Linked DNA regions of Homo sapiens: region 1 is linked to region 2. The links are contacts of gene promoters, found by promoter capture Hi-C in human tissues and cell types (Jung and others, 2019). All regions are on one chromosome and are shown on one strand. The core of a region is centred on a gene start or on the middle of the fragment in contact, and the rest is flanking DNA. Distances in the headings are between cores, read along the strand shown. Region 1 overlaps UBXN8 (UBX domain protein 8). Region 2 holds the start of INTS9 (integrator complex subunit 9).

What was found. The method cuts DNA at HindIII sites, captures the fragments that hold promoters and counts their contacts. A contact is called where the count stands out against the background at its distance.
Region 1: a fragment that was not itself captured here is called in contact with the fragment with the promoter of INTS9 in region 2 in 1 of the 25 tissues and cell types used here (dorsolateral prefrontal cortex).

The regions. Positions count from the first base shown.
Region 1 is chr8:30,744,973-30,752,267 of GRCh38, reverse strand. It overlaps UBXN8 (UBX domain protein 8), which reads right to left. Exons shown (of 8, transcript NM_005671.4): 2 at 750-872. Among named protein-coding and RNA genes, the nearest start is that of UBXN8, 4.5 kb to the right of the region's middle. The HindIII fragment of the contact is 5,910 bases long and covers 3,091-7,295 here.
Region 2 is chr8:28,884,590-28,891,566 of GRCh38, reverse strand. It overlaps INTS9 (integrator complex subunit 9), which reads left to right and starts at 1,598. Exons shown (of 17, transcript NM_018250.4): 1 at 1,598-1,693. The coding sequence starts at 1,685. HMBOX1 (homeobox containing 1) reads right to left here and starts at 1,172. Exons shown (of 10, transcript NM_001135726.3): 1 at 889-1,172. RefSeq lists a silencer at 930-1,049 and enhancers at 702-1,258, 1,420-1,619, 1,259-1,815. The HindIII fragment of the contact is 5,500 bases long and covers 1-4,701 here.

The DNA of each region.
Region 1 (7,295 bases), core at 4,796-7,295, 1.9 Mb before region 2:
ACAAAGGTGCCTAAGTAAAAACTGCTAGAATGGAATAAAACATTAGGATGAAAAGCCTTTCAAGATTAATGGTAGATTGGCCGGGTGTGGTGTCTCATGCCTGTGATCCCAACACATCGGGAGGCCGAGGTGGGCGGATCACGAGGTCAAGAGATCGAGACCATCCTGGTAAACATGGTGAAACCCTGTCTCTACAAAAAATACAAAAATTAGCTGGCATGGTGGTGCATGCCTGTAGTCCCAAATACTCGGGAGGCTGAGGCAGGAGAATCACTTGAACCCAGGAGGTGGAGGTTGCAGTGAGCCAAGATCATGCCACTGCACTCCAGCTGGTGACAGAGTGAGACTCCATCTCAAAAAAAAAAAAAAAAAAGTTTAATGGTAGATACATTGACTCTGTAGAACAGCTCATAAACTGTAGGTATCAAATGGCAGTTAAGCAGCACAAACACACAATTTAAAATTAGGGAATTTACCATATAACAACTTAGAAATGATATAGCTTTAAAACACATATATAAGAAAAATGTACAATTTCTCATAAAAATGTTGGGATATACTCCATGCAAAACAATCATCACTAATGTTTAAAAACCAACACAAAAAATCATGACTAAAGTTGTACTGATTACTCTCCCTGAAACTACACATCACAAATTAATAGTAAAATGGCTCTTACTGTGCAAAGTTCTAGAATAAATAAATTTGAGTAGAATGGTATAAAAGGGTAGAATAAATAATAAACTTACCCTTCAGATAAACTTGGGGAGATTTAAATGAGTTAAGCCATGAGGTAGTCACAGAAATAGTTAAAGTAAGAAGAGCAAGCAGTAGCAAAATCCGGCCACAAAGCAAAAGAAAATCCTTGATTCCTGATAAAGGAAAAAAACTAAAATTAAAATTCAAAACTTTTTTTTTAAGAGATGAGGTCTCACTATGTTGACTAGGCTGGTCTCGAACTCCTGAGCTCACGTGATCCTCCTGCCTTGGCCTCCCAAAGTGCTAGGATTATAGGCATGAGCCAACATGCCCAACCCAAAACATTTTTCTTGATACTCCTAATAAATTATAACACATTAGAAGATTATTTGTACTGGAAAAGTATAGTAGAAGTTATACAACTGTCTTATGATTTTGTTCATATAATAGTCATCCCTCAGTATTCATGGGGTATTGGTTCCAGGACTCCTGAGTATACCAAAATCCACGGATGCTCAAGTCCCTGATATAAAATGGCACAGTGTTTGCATACAGTCTATGCTCCCACATACTTTAAATCATCTATAGATGACTCATATACTACCCAATACAATGTAAAGGCTCTATAAATAGTTGCTATACTTTATTGTTTATGGACTAACGACGGGGAAAAAAGCCTGTAGATGTTCGGGACAGACAGACAAACATCCATTTATCCATTTTTTTCCTGAATATTTTCTTTTTTTTTTTCCTTCTTTTTTTAAGAGACAGGGTGTTGCTCTTCTTTTTTTTTTTTGAGACAGAGTCTCGCTCTGTTGCCCAGGCTGGAGTGCAGTGGCATGATCTCGGCTCACTGCAAGCTCTGCCTCCCAGGTTCATGCCATTCTCCTGCTTCAGCCTCCCGAGTAGCTGGGACTACAGGTGCCTGCCACCACGCCTGGCTAATTTTTTGTATTTTTTAGTAGAGACGGGGTTTCACCATGTTAGCCAGGATGGTCCCGATCTCCTGACCTCATGATCCGCCCGCCTCAGCCTGCCAAAGTTCTGGGATTACAAGCGTGAGCCACCGTGCCCGGCCGACAGGGTGTTGCTCTTCTTGGTCTTGCTCTGCCACCCAGGCTGCTGGAGTGCAATGGTGAGACCACGGCTCACTGCAGCCTCAACCTCCTGGGGCTCAAGGAGGGCCTCCTGCCTTAGTGCCCCCAAGTAGCTGGGACTACAGGCACGTACCACCACACCCGGCTAATTTCTGTATTTTTTGTAGAGATGGGGTCTCGCCATGTTGTCCAGGCTGGTCTTGAGCTCCTGAACACGGGCAATCTGCTCGCCTCGGCCTCCCAAGGTCCTGGGATTGTAGGTGTGAGCCACCACACCCAGCCCTTTCTGAATAGTCTCAATCCACAGGTGCTTAAATGCTCAATGTGGAACTCAGGGATACAGAGGGTTTACTGTACTCTCCTTTGGGCATTAAAAAACTCATGATGGTTGTCATTTCCAGAACAAATGTACAGAGCATAATTCTAGAATAAACACTATCTTGGGAATACAGTTACAATTAGAGCGATCAGCTACACTATATTATGAATATCAGTAATGTATAAGTTGTAGTTTCCCATATAGAGAAAATTACATAACTAGAAATAAAACTGAAAATATCATCGTGTTGGTCAGGTGTGGTGGCTCACACCTGTAATCCCAGCACTTTGGGAGGCCGAGGCAGGCAGATCAGAGGTCAGGAGATCCAGACCATCCTGGCTATCACGGTGAAACCCTGTCTCTAATAAAAATACAAAAAATTAGCTGGGCGCGGTGGCGGGTACCTGTAGTCCCAGCTACTTGGGAGGCTGAGGCAGGAAAATGTCATGAACCTGTGAGGCAGAGCTTGCAGTGAGCCAAGATCGTGCCATGGCACTCCAGCCTGGGCGACAGAGAGAGACTCTGTCTCAAAAAAAAAAAAAAAGAAAAAAAGAAAATATCGTGTCAAATTCTAGTTCTATGATAATCTCACTGAAACACCAAATTCTTATTTCTCACAAATTGTGCAACTGTGTGCTTCTTTATTTCTTGACATTTAGTCACTTGTAAGTAAAATTACGATTTACATGCTTGCGGAGGAAAAAGTAAAAATATAGTATTTGGTCTATTTATTTATTTATTTATTTTATTTTTTTTTTTTGAGACGGAGCCTCAGTCTGTTGCTCAGGCTGGAGTGCAGTGGCGCAATCTTGGCTCACTGCAACCTCTGCCTCCTGGGTTCCAGCTATTCTCCTGCCTCAGCCTCCTGGGTAGCTGGGACTACAGGCATGCACCACCATGCCTGGCTAGTTTTGTATTTTCAGTAGAGATGGGGTTTCACCACGTTGGACAGGCTGGTCTCAAACTCCTGACCTCAGGTGATCCGCTGGCCTCAGCCTCCCAAAGTGCTGGGATTACAGGCATGAGCCACCGCACCCAGCCAGTATTTGGTGTTATATTAAGAACCAAAGTGAAAATTATTTGAGCAGAAATCTAACTACCTACTTTGCATAATACAATTTGGCAAATGTTGAGGGACAGGAAACAAAGCTGGGTTAAAAATGATTTCCATCCTCTTGGAATTTTTACTCGTTTTGTGTTTTTAATTTTCAAAAGATAAATGGCAGAGATACAGAGGAATCCAACGTGATCAAGGCTGGTAATTAGTCAATTAACTAAAACTTAAAGAAGGAATCAGAAAAACATATATATAGGCCGGGCGAGATGGCTCATGCCTGTAATCCCAGCACTTTGGGAGGCCAAGGCGGGTGGATCACCTGAGGTCAGGACTTTAAGACCAACCTGGCCAACACGGTGAAACCTCCATCTCTACCAAAATACAAAAATTAGCCAGGCATGATGGTGGGTGCCTGTAATACCAGACACTTGGGAGGCTGAGGCAGGAGAATCACTTGAACCTGGGAGGTAGAGGATGCAGTGAGCAGAGATCATGCCATTGCACTCTAGCCTGGGCAACAGAGTGAAACTCTGTCTCAAAAAAAAAGAAAAAAACATATATAGACTTAAATGTTTTATTTTAAACTGAAAACAGATAGATGTATATTCTTGCCTTTTTTTTTTTTTTCTTTCAGATGGCCTCTCACTCTCTTGCCCAGGCTGGAGTGCAGCAGTTGATAACAGCTCACTGCAGCCACAACCTCCAGGGCTCAAGCAGTCGTCCCATGTCAGCCTCCCAAGTAGCTGGGACCACAGATGTGGGCCATCAGATAATATATATATATTTTTTCCAAATGATCCTCCTTTCTTGGGCATGGTGGTTCATGCCTGTAGTCCCAGCTACTCAGGAGGCTGAGGCAGGAGAATCACTTGAACCCAGAAGGCGGAAGTTGCAGTGAGCTGAGACTGCACCACTGCGCTCCAGCCTGGGTGACAGAGTGAGACTCCATCTCAAAAAAAAAAAGAAAAAAAATTTAGCTTAAGTACAAGTAAAATGTATTGACAATAAAGGTTTTTACACAGTAGAAAAAGACAAGGCTAGTTTTTCAATATATGTCTGAATATTAGTACAGGCATAACCAGCCCTGCTGCTGGTATAAAGTATGATGTGTAAATCAGACTTAAATGCTGTTAAGAAATAATTATTGGAAGCTCACTATCAAGAATCCAAAGGTAGCAAAAAAAAAAAAAAAAAAAAAAAAGAAAAAATATATATTAAAAAAAGAAAACTTGGCCTCCCAAAGTGCTGGGATTACAGGCATGAGCCACCTTGCTTGGCCCAATATTCTTTAAAAACCCTAGCAATTTAAAGTTGCTTAGAGAAGAAGTATGACTTTAAAAAAAAAATCACGGCTCCTCCAACTTGCCAGTATTAACTGTTGATTCAGGTGTTATTCAATACAACACATAATTTAATCTATTTTATCTCTGGCCAATACAAAAGTAGTTTAATATCTAGAGTATTGGTATGTAAAGAAACCATTGAGGCCAGGCGCAGTGGCTCACGTCTATAATCCCAGCACTTTGAGAAGCTGAGGTGAGTGGATCACTTGAACTCAGGAGTTTGTAACCAGCCTGGGCAACATGGTGAAACCCCGTCTCTACTAAAAATACAAACATTAGCCAGGCACAGTGGTGCACACCAGTAATCCCAGCTAGTTGGGAGGCTGAGGCAGGATAATGGCTTGGACCTGGGAGGCGGAGGTTGCAGTGAGCAGAGATTGTGCCACTGCACTCCTGCGTGGGCAACAGAGTAAGACTCTGTCTCAAAAAAAAAAAAAAAAAAAAACACCACTGAGGTGTGGGATTTATGTTCCATACTACTGCTGTTCGTTCTAACAAGCAATTTGCAAACATCACATGAGAATATGAAAGAACTATATTTGTGTGTATACCTTTAAAGAAAAAAAATTTTAAGGTTTTTTCGTTTTTGTTTTTGTTTTGAGATGGAATCTCACTCTGTTGCCAGGCTGGAGTGCAGTGGTGTGATCTCGGCTCACTGCAACCTCCACCTCCCGGGTTCCAGCGATTCTCCTGCCTCAGCCTCCCAAGAAGCTGGGACTACAGGCGTGCGCCACCATGCTCCGCTAATTTTCGTATTTTTAGTAGAGACAGCGTTTCACCATGTTGGCCAGGATGGTCTCGATTACTTGACCTCATGACTCGCCTGCCTCGGCCTCCCAGAGTGCTGGGATTTTTTTGTGTACTTAAACTATAGACCCCATAAGCAGTGTACTTCAACGTGAGGAACTGGCCTTAAAATATTTAGCTTAGTCAGGGCGCGGTGGCTCACGCCTGTAATCCCAGCACTTTGGGAGGCCGAGGCGGGTGGATCACAAGGTCAGGAGTTGGAGACCAACCTGGCACAACATACCGAAACCCCGCCTCTACTAAAAATACAAAAAAATTAGTCGGGCATGGTGGTGCATGCCTGTAGTCCCAGCTACTCAGGAGGCTAAGGCAGGAGAATCGCTGGAACCCAGAAGGCGGAAGTTGCAGTGAGCTGAGACTGCACCACTGCACTCCAGCCTGGGTGACAGAGTGAGACTCCGTCTCAAAAAAAAAAAAAAGAAAAAAAAAATCTAGCTTAAGTACAAGTAAAATGTATTGACAATAAAGGTTTTTACACAGTAGAAAAAGACAAGGCTAGTTTTTCAATATATGTCTGAATATCAGTATAGGCATAACCAGCCCTGCTGCTGGTATAAAGTATGATGTATAAAACAGACTTAAATACTGTTAAGAAATAATTATTGGAAGCTCACTATCAAGAATCCAAAGGTAGCAGAAAAAAAAAGGAAAAAATATATATTAAAAAAAGAAAACTGAAAAGAGGAAACAATCCAAAGGAAACAATCATTCGTTCAGAATTCTGAGAAAGAAGCTAATCCCATGAAAATTTCAAGAACTAGATAAAGATGCTGCCAGGAGCCCAGGTGCAATTTATAGAACCCTTGTCCCTAGTTCTATTAAACTAGACACTGGTAAGTGCTGGGAATACAAAAACAAATTCCATTTGGTCTCTGCCTTCAAGAAGCATATTTCTGGCTGGGCACGGTGGCTCACACCTATAATCCCAGCACTCTGGGTGGCCGAAGTGGGTGGATTGCTTGAGCCTAGGAGTTCCAGACCAGCCTGGGCAACATGGCAAAACCACATCTCTGCAAAAAAATACAAAAAATAAGCAAGGCATGGTGGTGTGGCCCCTGTATTCCTAGCTACTCAGAAGGCTGAGGTGGGAGGATCACTTGAGCCGGGAAGTCCAGGCTACAGTAAGCCATGACCGTGCCACTGCACTGCAGCCTGGGTGACTGAGCAAGACCTTGTCTCAAAAAATAATAAATGAGCAGAGTAGGGGTGGATGTTGAAAAGACAAGGGAACAGGTGAATTGCGGAAATGGTGAGTGTGAATTCAACATTTCTGATCCTTTGGATAAAGGTCTTGTTATATTCCAACACAGCTTGAGTGAGTGAGAAGCTTCAGGACAGTCTTTGTACATTTTTTTAAAGCATTTTATTTTCATTTCTTATTGCACGCAACATTTCTAGGCATCTGACTCCTTGTGAGCAGGGAGAAAATGTGGAGAAAGAGAGGGAGTACACAAAGCCAAGTTTCATTATGGTCTCTAACTTTAGAATTGACCTTAAAAAGGGAGACAGACATGTAAACTGATCACTGAAATGTCCAAAAATCAACTCATGATTCTCAGCATCTCCACAGTTTTTCTTTCCATTTCCCCTTTACCAGTAGCACTACCAAATACCTAGGTTTGCTCAGTCCCCCATGAGGCAGTCGTCCTTGAATCCTTCCTTTCCCTTGCCCCAAACATCAACCCATAAACAAAGCCTGTTGGTTGATCCTACTCCGTCAATATCCCAATTCTGTCTACATTTCATCTCCTGTTATTGTTCTAGTCCAGGCCATCATCACCACTTGTCAACTTCCAAAGCCTGATGTGCCTCACTGCTTCCACCATAGCTTCTGTCCAAAGCATTCTCCATACAGAATCGAGTGACCTTTTTAAAACTTAGGGAAGTCACTTAACCTCCCTAAATTTTAGTTCCCTCAACTGTAAAATGGGGATTATAATAGTGCCTACCCTCCTCTGATTGCAGTGCAGATT
Region 2 (6,977 bases), core at 349-2,848:
ACTCCCGACCCCCACCCCAGGCCCCCCGAATCTTCAGCAATTATTCATCTAATTCACACGAAGACAAGATACCTCTACCTACTGTTTCGGGGTGAAGGTGGGTGGAGGACGCCTTTCAAAGTAGCCCCAATAGTGTAACCAAAACACGGTTCCGGAATAAAATATTAAGAAACACTTTTCCTTTCCCACCTATCTACCGACTTGAGGATGCAAAAAATCCATCTCCACATCACACCATCTCTACAGTTCTCGTGGCTGGAGTTTGGGGTGGAGATTCGTCCAGGGGAGGGGGCGGAGGCGAGTGGCAGAGTGTGAGCGGGCGACGGGACACAAGCGAGTTGTTGAGCCCGGCCGCCTCGCACCACGTCGCCAGCCCAAACGCCCAGCACCAGGACCTCACGCCCGCCCCTCAGCCCAGGCCCAGAGCGAGCGAGGACTCGCGCTGTCTAACTTCCCATCTACAGACACCGCTCCAAGACGAGCAGAGCACACAAGTACACGTCACACAGTTTAAACACACTTACACACCCCAAACAAACCAACACACCTGCAAATCACCTCACAGTTTCCAGAACTCCACACCGGAGACCCCACCTCCAGGATTCAAACCTTCCGCTCATCGTAGAGGAAACCAGAAGAGTTGGGGGGCAGTCGACGCCTTTCCAGGACCGGACCCCACGAACTGCCCCACCCCACAGCCCGCGTCTGGGTCACCCACTCGGAAGCCCCCTGCTTCCTCCCTCCTCTCAATCCGGCCGCTTACGAGACCCATCCCCAGCGTCCGCTCACTTCCTCCCCAAAACCCCTCCAAAAAAATTGTTTTAAGTGAAGAGAAAGAAGTGAGGAAAGAGACTTGAGGTAGTCCGGCTTCAAAACCGCTCGACTCACCTCAGAATCCTCGCTGAGTTCTCTCCGCCCGGCACAGCCCCCTCCCCAACGTCCCAGTACGAAGGGCTGAGATAGGGAGGAGGGAAGGCGGGAGGGGGAGGGGTGTCTTCCGCGTGGGGCGCCCGTCGGGAGGGGACTGGGGAGGGGTTGAGGCCGGCGCAGGAAGAGGAGAAGGGGGAGGGGAGGCCCCTATCTCCCAGTCTCCCCCTGAAAAACCTCCCTTGTCTCAATCACATCAGACTGACTGTCTTTGTCTGGCTGACAACCGCCATATTGATATCAACAGCCCCTCTCCCACCTGCTGCCGCCGGGCGTCCCTGGGAGTTGTAGTTCCTGCCTCCCCTGAGAAAAATTGCGGAGCCCGGCGCCTAGAGGGCCAAGGGAACTACAACTTCCGGCAAGCCCCGTGCCCATCCGCCTTCCCTTTGGGAGGAGGGAAAGGGGAGTCGGAGCCGTCGGGACTACACATCCCAGAACACCATGGGCCCCAGGCCCGTAAGGAAGACATGATATCATGCTGGGGTGGAGAGGGAGGATGCATTGGCGGCTGGGATGAATTTGAGCTGACGGAAGGAGGCGTTCGGAGAGGAAAGGGAGGAAAAGGAAAGGCGACCACAGTTCCCATGATGCCTGGAGGGGAGACTACATTTCCCATTATTCCCCTGGAAGGGACGTGAGGATGAAAGACTGCAAGTCCCGCGATGCTCTCGGCTGGCAGGTGGCGGAGATTGCACCGGAAGACGCTTCCTGGGTTTGAGGAGTTCAGTGACTGCTATTGAACCACCAAAAGTCCATTATGAAACTGGTGAGTCTTCGCTCCTAGGTCAGAGGGCAAAGGTGATGCTATAACCTTTTGGACCTCTTTTTTTCCTACGTTGGGCAGGGAATCGTCGCACGGGAGGGGTAGCAATTATTGAGCTGGAAAGTGGAGTGGGCTAAGGAAAGCTGCTTTTTGTTGTTGAGAAGGTTTGAATTCCCTCTCCCCCACCCCATCCCTCCCAGGAGGTCTTTTTTCACTCGTTAGTGGGTCTTTTTGTTCAGACAAGAGGTTGACTGTCACAGTCCTTCGCCCATGAACTCTGTGGGCTCTGTTAACCAGGTTTGGACGTCCTGGTTCCCACGTGAGGGTTATAATAGGCTGTTAACAATCCGTTTCCATTCGATTGGCGCTTGAGTATCCTGTCTCCCTACTGTTGTTGAGACTGGCTAGATTTAAGCAGACAGTAAAAAACATCCAGCAGAACGTAATCACTTATTAAATATCCTGTTATATAGACTCCTCACTGCCCTTGGAATTCAGGACGAGGTCAGAGTGTGGAGAAGTTGAGTCTTAAACCCTGCATGGGATTTAGATGGGCAGAGAAGTGTTATATGGTATTCCATTCTAAGACTGTAGGGACTTCATGAGCCAAGGCTGAATGAAGCGTGCTCGGTATACCTGAAGTCTTAACATCACACAGCTCAAGCACCTGGTTCATGGAGGCTCCTCAGACCTTTGATTTGAGCCATTTGACTCATTGTGCACACAAGTCTAACTAGTTTATTCCAACTCGATTCAATTAGTTAATAACATAGTGTAGAAAGGCAGGTGTGAAACACTGTTTCTCAACCTTTTAAAACCCATATTTGTGCAGCCAAGTTATTGTCAAGCTTTACTTGAGGCAGGAGAATCGCTTGAACCCGGGAGGCAGAGGTTGCAGTAAGCCAAGATCGCGCCACTGCACTCCAGCCTTGCAACAGCGCGAGACTCTGTCTCAAAAAAAAAAAAAGTTTATTTTTTACCATTTATATAATTATCTGAACATGCTTTGCCAAACCACACAACACACCTACCCTCATCTTGATAATCATTGTGCTACAGGCATATATTCTGCAAAGCCAGCTGTTTTCTGCGAAGTCAGAGAAAGTATTAAAAGTGGATTCAATTCCGAAATTGTCCCCGTATAAATCTGTTTATATAAGGGGAAGGATGCGGGTCACTAAACCTTGAGAATAGCAACTTACCCCTGGGTCAGTGTGTTACACATTTAATAATGCAGAATTAAAAGTCATAGCCGTTGCCCTACAGAAGCATGCAACCTAAGAAGAAGATAGAAAAGTAAACCAAAGTTATTATTTATTTATTTAGAGACAGGGTCTGGCTTTGTGGGGCCCAGACTGAAGTGCAGTGGCGCGTTCTCAGCTCGCTGCTACCTCCACCTTTCGGACTCAAGCGATCCTCTCGCCGCGTCAGTCTCCCCATATAGCTGGGAATACAGGCGCGCACCACTGCACCCTGCTTATTTTTTTTGTAGAAATGGGGTTTAACCATGTTGCCCAGGCTGGTCTCAAACTCCTGGGTTCAAGGTATCTGCCCACCTCAACCTTCCAAAGTGCTGGAATTACAGGCATGAGCCACCATGCCTGGTCCGAAATTATAATTCACTGTGTTCATGGTGAAATAGAGGCGTGTTCAGGGTTTTGGGAATTCAGAGAACAGAGGATTGGGGAGGTCAGGGGACAGCTTCCTGGAAACGTGACTCTTGAACTGATAAGGATAAGTAAGCCAGGGCCTTCCATGAAAGAGGTCAGCTTATAGGAGCATAAGAGCTTGGTACCTTATTGGCTAAAGCATGGACCCTGTGTTCTCAATAAAGAGCAAATTATATTTAATGTGTTCAGTTTAAGAAGGCAGGGAAGTGTGAAATAGTTTTTCCCATAACAACTCATTAGTGAGGGTATCAAAAAGCCAGGGTTTACTTTACATATATTTTAGTTTGCTCATAAAATCCTCCTGCTTAATTTATTTAGAAATATGAAACCGGGGATTGTAAAAAAGTGGAAAATTATTTTTTCCATTAAGAACCAAAGATGTCTCAGAGGAAAAGGAAGTATTCTATTGATACTCATACTCCCTCTTTACTTTGCAACTATGTATTACATACTAAAATTTATTTGGTAGTTGATAGATAAATGTAATTGAGAATTCCCATCAACATACCAAAAGCATTGTTGCTCAGTAAGTTAGATGGGTGTGTCATGCCTCCCAAATGGTTGGAATAAGTCCTCCCATGGCCTAAAAGTTTTAATTTTGTGTACTGCTTCAGAAATATGTAATAGGCTGTGTTTTAAATTTATAATTATGAAACAAAAACACATTTTGTTTAGCATTTTCTCATTTTTGAGATTCACTTTCCAGAGTACCCTTCCCACACACAATCTATGACCACCTCTTATTGATTCTGCTTCCTAAATGCAGCTTTCTTAAATAGGTTCTATTTCTCTCCAGTCCAACTAGAATACTGTCTTTGTAATCGGAATTCAACAAGACCCCTTATCTGGTCTCTCTGCATTCAGTCTTAACCCTCTCAAATTCATTCTTTCCTCTGCATCCGGAAGTTGTTTTAATTGCAGAGTTCCATGAAACCCTCTCAGTATCTTCCTTTGCCCTTAGGATAACCTCCTACACTTAACTTGGTTGAATATGTTCCATTGCCTGCCTCACTCTTTTTTGCCTGGCTAATTTCTTCATATATTTCAGATCTCTGTCTAAATAACACTTCTTCAGGGCCTCGTTGAATTAAGTACCCCTGTTATATATTTGATGGCATACTTCCTATTTGTAGCACTTGTAATTATTGGCGTGTGTCTGTCCTCCCCCATGTAGATTCTGTGTAAATAATTGGTAAATAATTTCTGAAGGTTTATCAAGGTCTATGGATACCCTTGAGAAAAGATTAAAGAGTGAAATTAAAGAGATTACAATAAGCAGTAACCATTGAAGTAAAAAAGGAATGATAGCTACCTTTTATAAAGCAATTATTGTGTGCCAGGCAATGTGCTAAGTATTTGCTATGTAGTTTCCCATTTAATCCTTTGATCCAGGTGACAGTATTCCCATTTTACAGACAAAAAATGTGAGCTTCAGGGAGGTGAAGTAAGTGGCTTAAAGTTAGCATGGATTAAAAATGATAGAGCCAAGATCGAAACCCAGGTTTCCCTGTTATTTAGTGAGGGTAGGAACTCTAGCACCCTGCACCATGCCTAGGTTATCTCTTAAAAAAAAAGAAGGTAGAGTGCATACAGAAAATATATTCAAGGCTATTTTTAAAAATTAGCTTTAAATGCAAGTGTGGTTCAATTAAGATCTTCAGGCCAGGTGCAGTGGTTCATGACTGTAATCCCAGCACTTTGGGAGGCGGAGGCAGGCAGATGGCTTGAGATCAGGAGTTCTAGACCAGCCTGAGCAACATGGCAAAACCTGTCTTTACAAAAGATACAAAAACTAGCTGAGCGTCGTGGCATGTGCCTGTAGTCCCAGCTACTTGAGGGGCTGAGGCAGGAGGATCACTTGCGCCTAGAAGGTTGAGGCTGGAGTGAGCTGTGATGGCACCACTGCATTACAACCTGGGTGACAAAATGAGACCCTATCTCAAAAACAAAAAACAAAAAAAAGTTTTTAAGGTTATTGGTTAAAAAAAAATTTTTTTTAAGTTTGAGGACTTTCTTGATGAGCTAAAGGCCCCCATATCAGAGCATACTAATTTGGTGCTGAAGTTAGTATTTTTTATCTTCCAAATTTAGCTCCTGTGATACCATTTATAATTCTCTAACTTTGCACATCACCCTCTTGGTGGCTTTTCACACACCCACATGAAAACAATGGATGCCATTATAACGTAATACTTGGGTATCTCCTTCTTAGATACCAACTCAGAGGATTTCAGTGGCTTTCCGTATTTATAATATGCAATATTCAGGCAGCTTTATTTAACTGAAGAAAACTCATTGGCATTTTCAGTTAACCAGAATCATTTTAGAAAGCAGAGGAAAATTAGAAATATATCTTTTAAATTAGCACATTTTAGAGCATGTTCTGTTATTTGTATAGATTGAGCCTAACTGAGTACGCTGATGGCCAGTTCAGCTAAGGATAGAAACTGGAATTCACAAAGGTCCTTACCGAAAGAACATGGAACAAAAAATTCTGAGCACGTTGACAGAAATTAAGTTTGAAACATCATGGCCAGGAACCCAGTCATTTAAATAGATGAAGAGTCAAGCGAATAAAATAATCCAAAGCAGTTCAAGAATGCAGCCTGTGTGTTGTACTTCCTACAGATAGTACCTGAGATGGAGAGAATCTTCTGGCTTATTCAGTCAACAAAGATTTTTTATGCAACCACAGTATACCCTTGGCATTCACAATTTTAACGCTTTCCATTTTAACCATTACATTTGACCCCTGTGACATGGAATTATTTATAATTTTGCTGAGACACAAATTTGAATGTGACTTTAAGATTAATGTTAATCCTTTGGGAGGGGCCTGAGTGCCTCAGAATCCATGGCGCTCTGCAGAGGCCGGCTTGTTAAAAGTCTTAAAGGAAGGTCATTTAAATGCTTGTTATACTATACTTATTAAATTTGAAGGAGAAAATTACATGCTGTAGTTGTGTTTACAAATTTTAAAACTTGAGAAGGCCACGAAATACATTCTTCAGTGGTCTTTGCTCCTTTGTTCAAAATGCTGTTTCATTTCTACTGGCTCAAACTTTTAACTTGCCATTTCTCCTGGGAAAACAGATGGAGCAAAGAAATGAATTCATGGACTGCTCCCAGTGGAAGACAAGTAAAACACCGAGTGCAATTGTAGATTATGTAGAAGATTGCTTGAAAGGGGCAAATCCTGCCCCAAGGTCAGTTTAAGAAATCATTAGAAAGGGGCGTGGTTAATCCTCACCTTGGATCTGAGAGTGTTGGATTCTTCCTCCAGTTTACATGGTTGTAGAATCCTGTTGGCTTCCTAGGTTGTACATGAAAACAGGAAATCTCGGGCTATAAATTACAAGCCCTCAACATTTTATCGGTGCTTGATTCAACTATTGCAGTACAAATTGTTAAAATGTCAGCTTGACTTCACTGTCTTTTCTGTTTTTCTTTGCTGGTTAATAAGAGTGCCCTCCTGTGTCTTTAGGATGTAATGTCATTTCAAGCTTTTCAAAGGTCATATTTTATCATAACCTCAATAGGTTTTTTCCTTCATGATTTCCTCAAACTCTGAAAAGCTGCGTGTGACATAAGGCTAAGTTACATACCTTTCTCAGTAA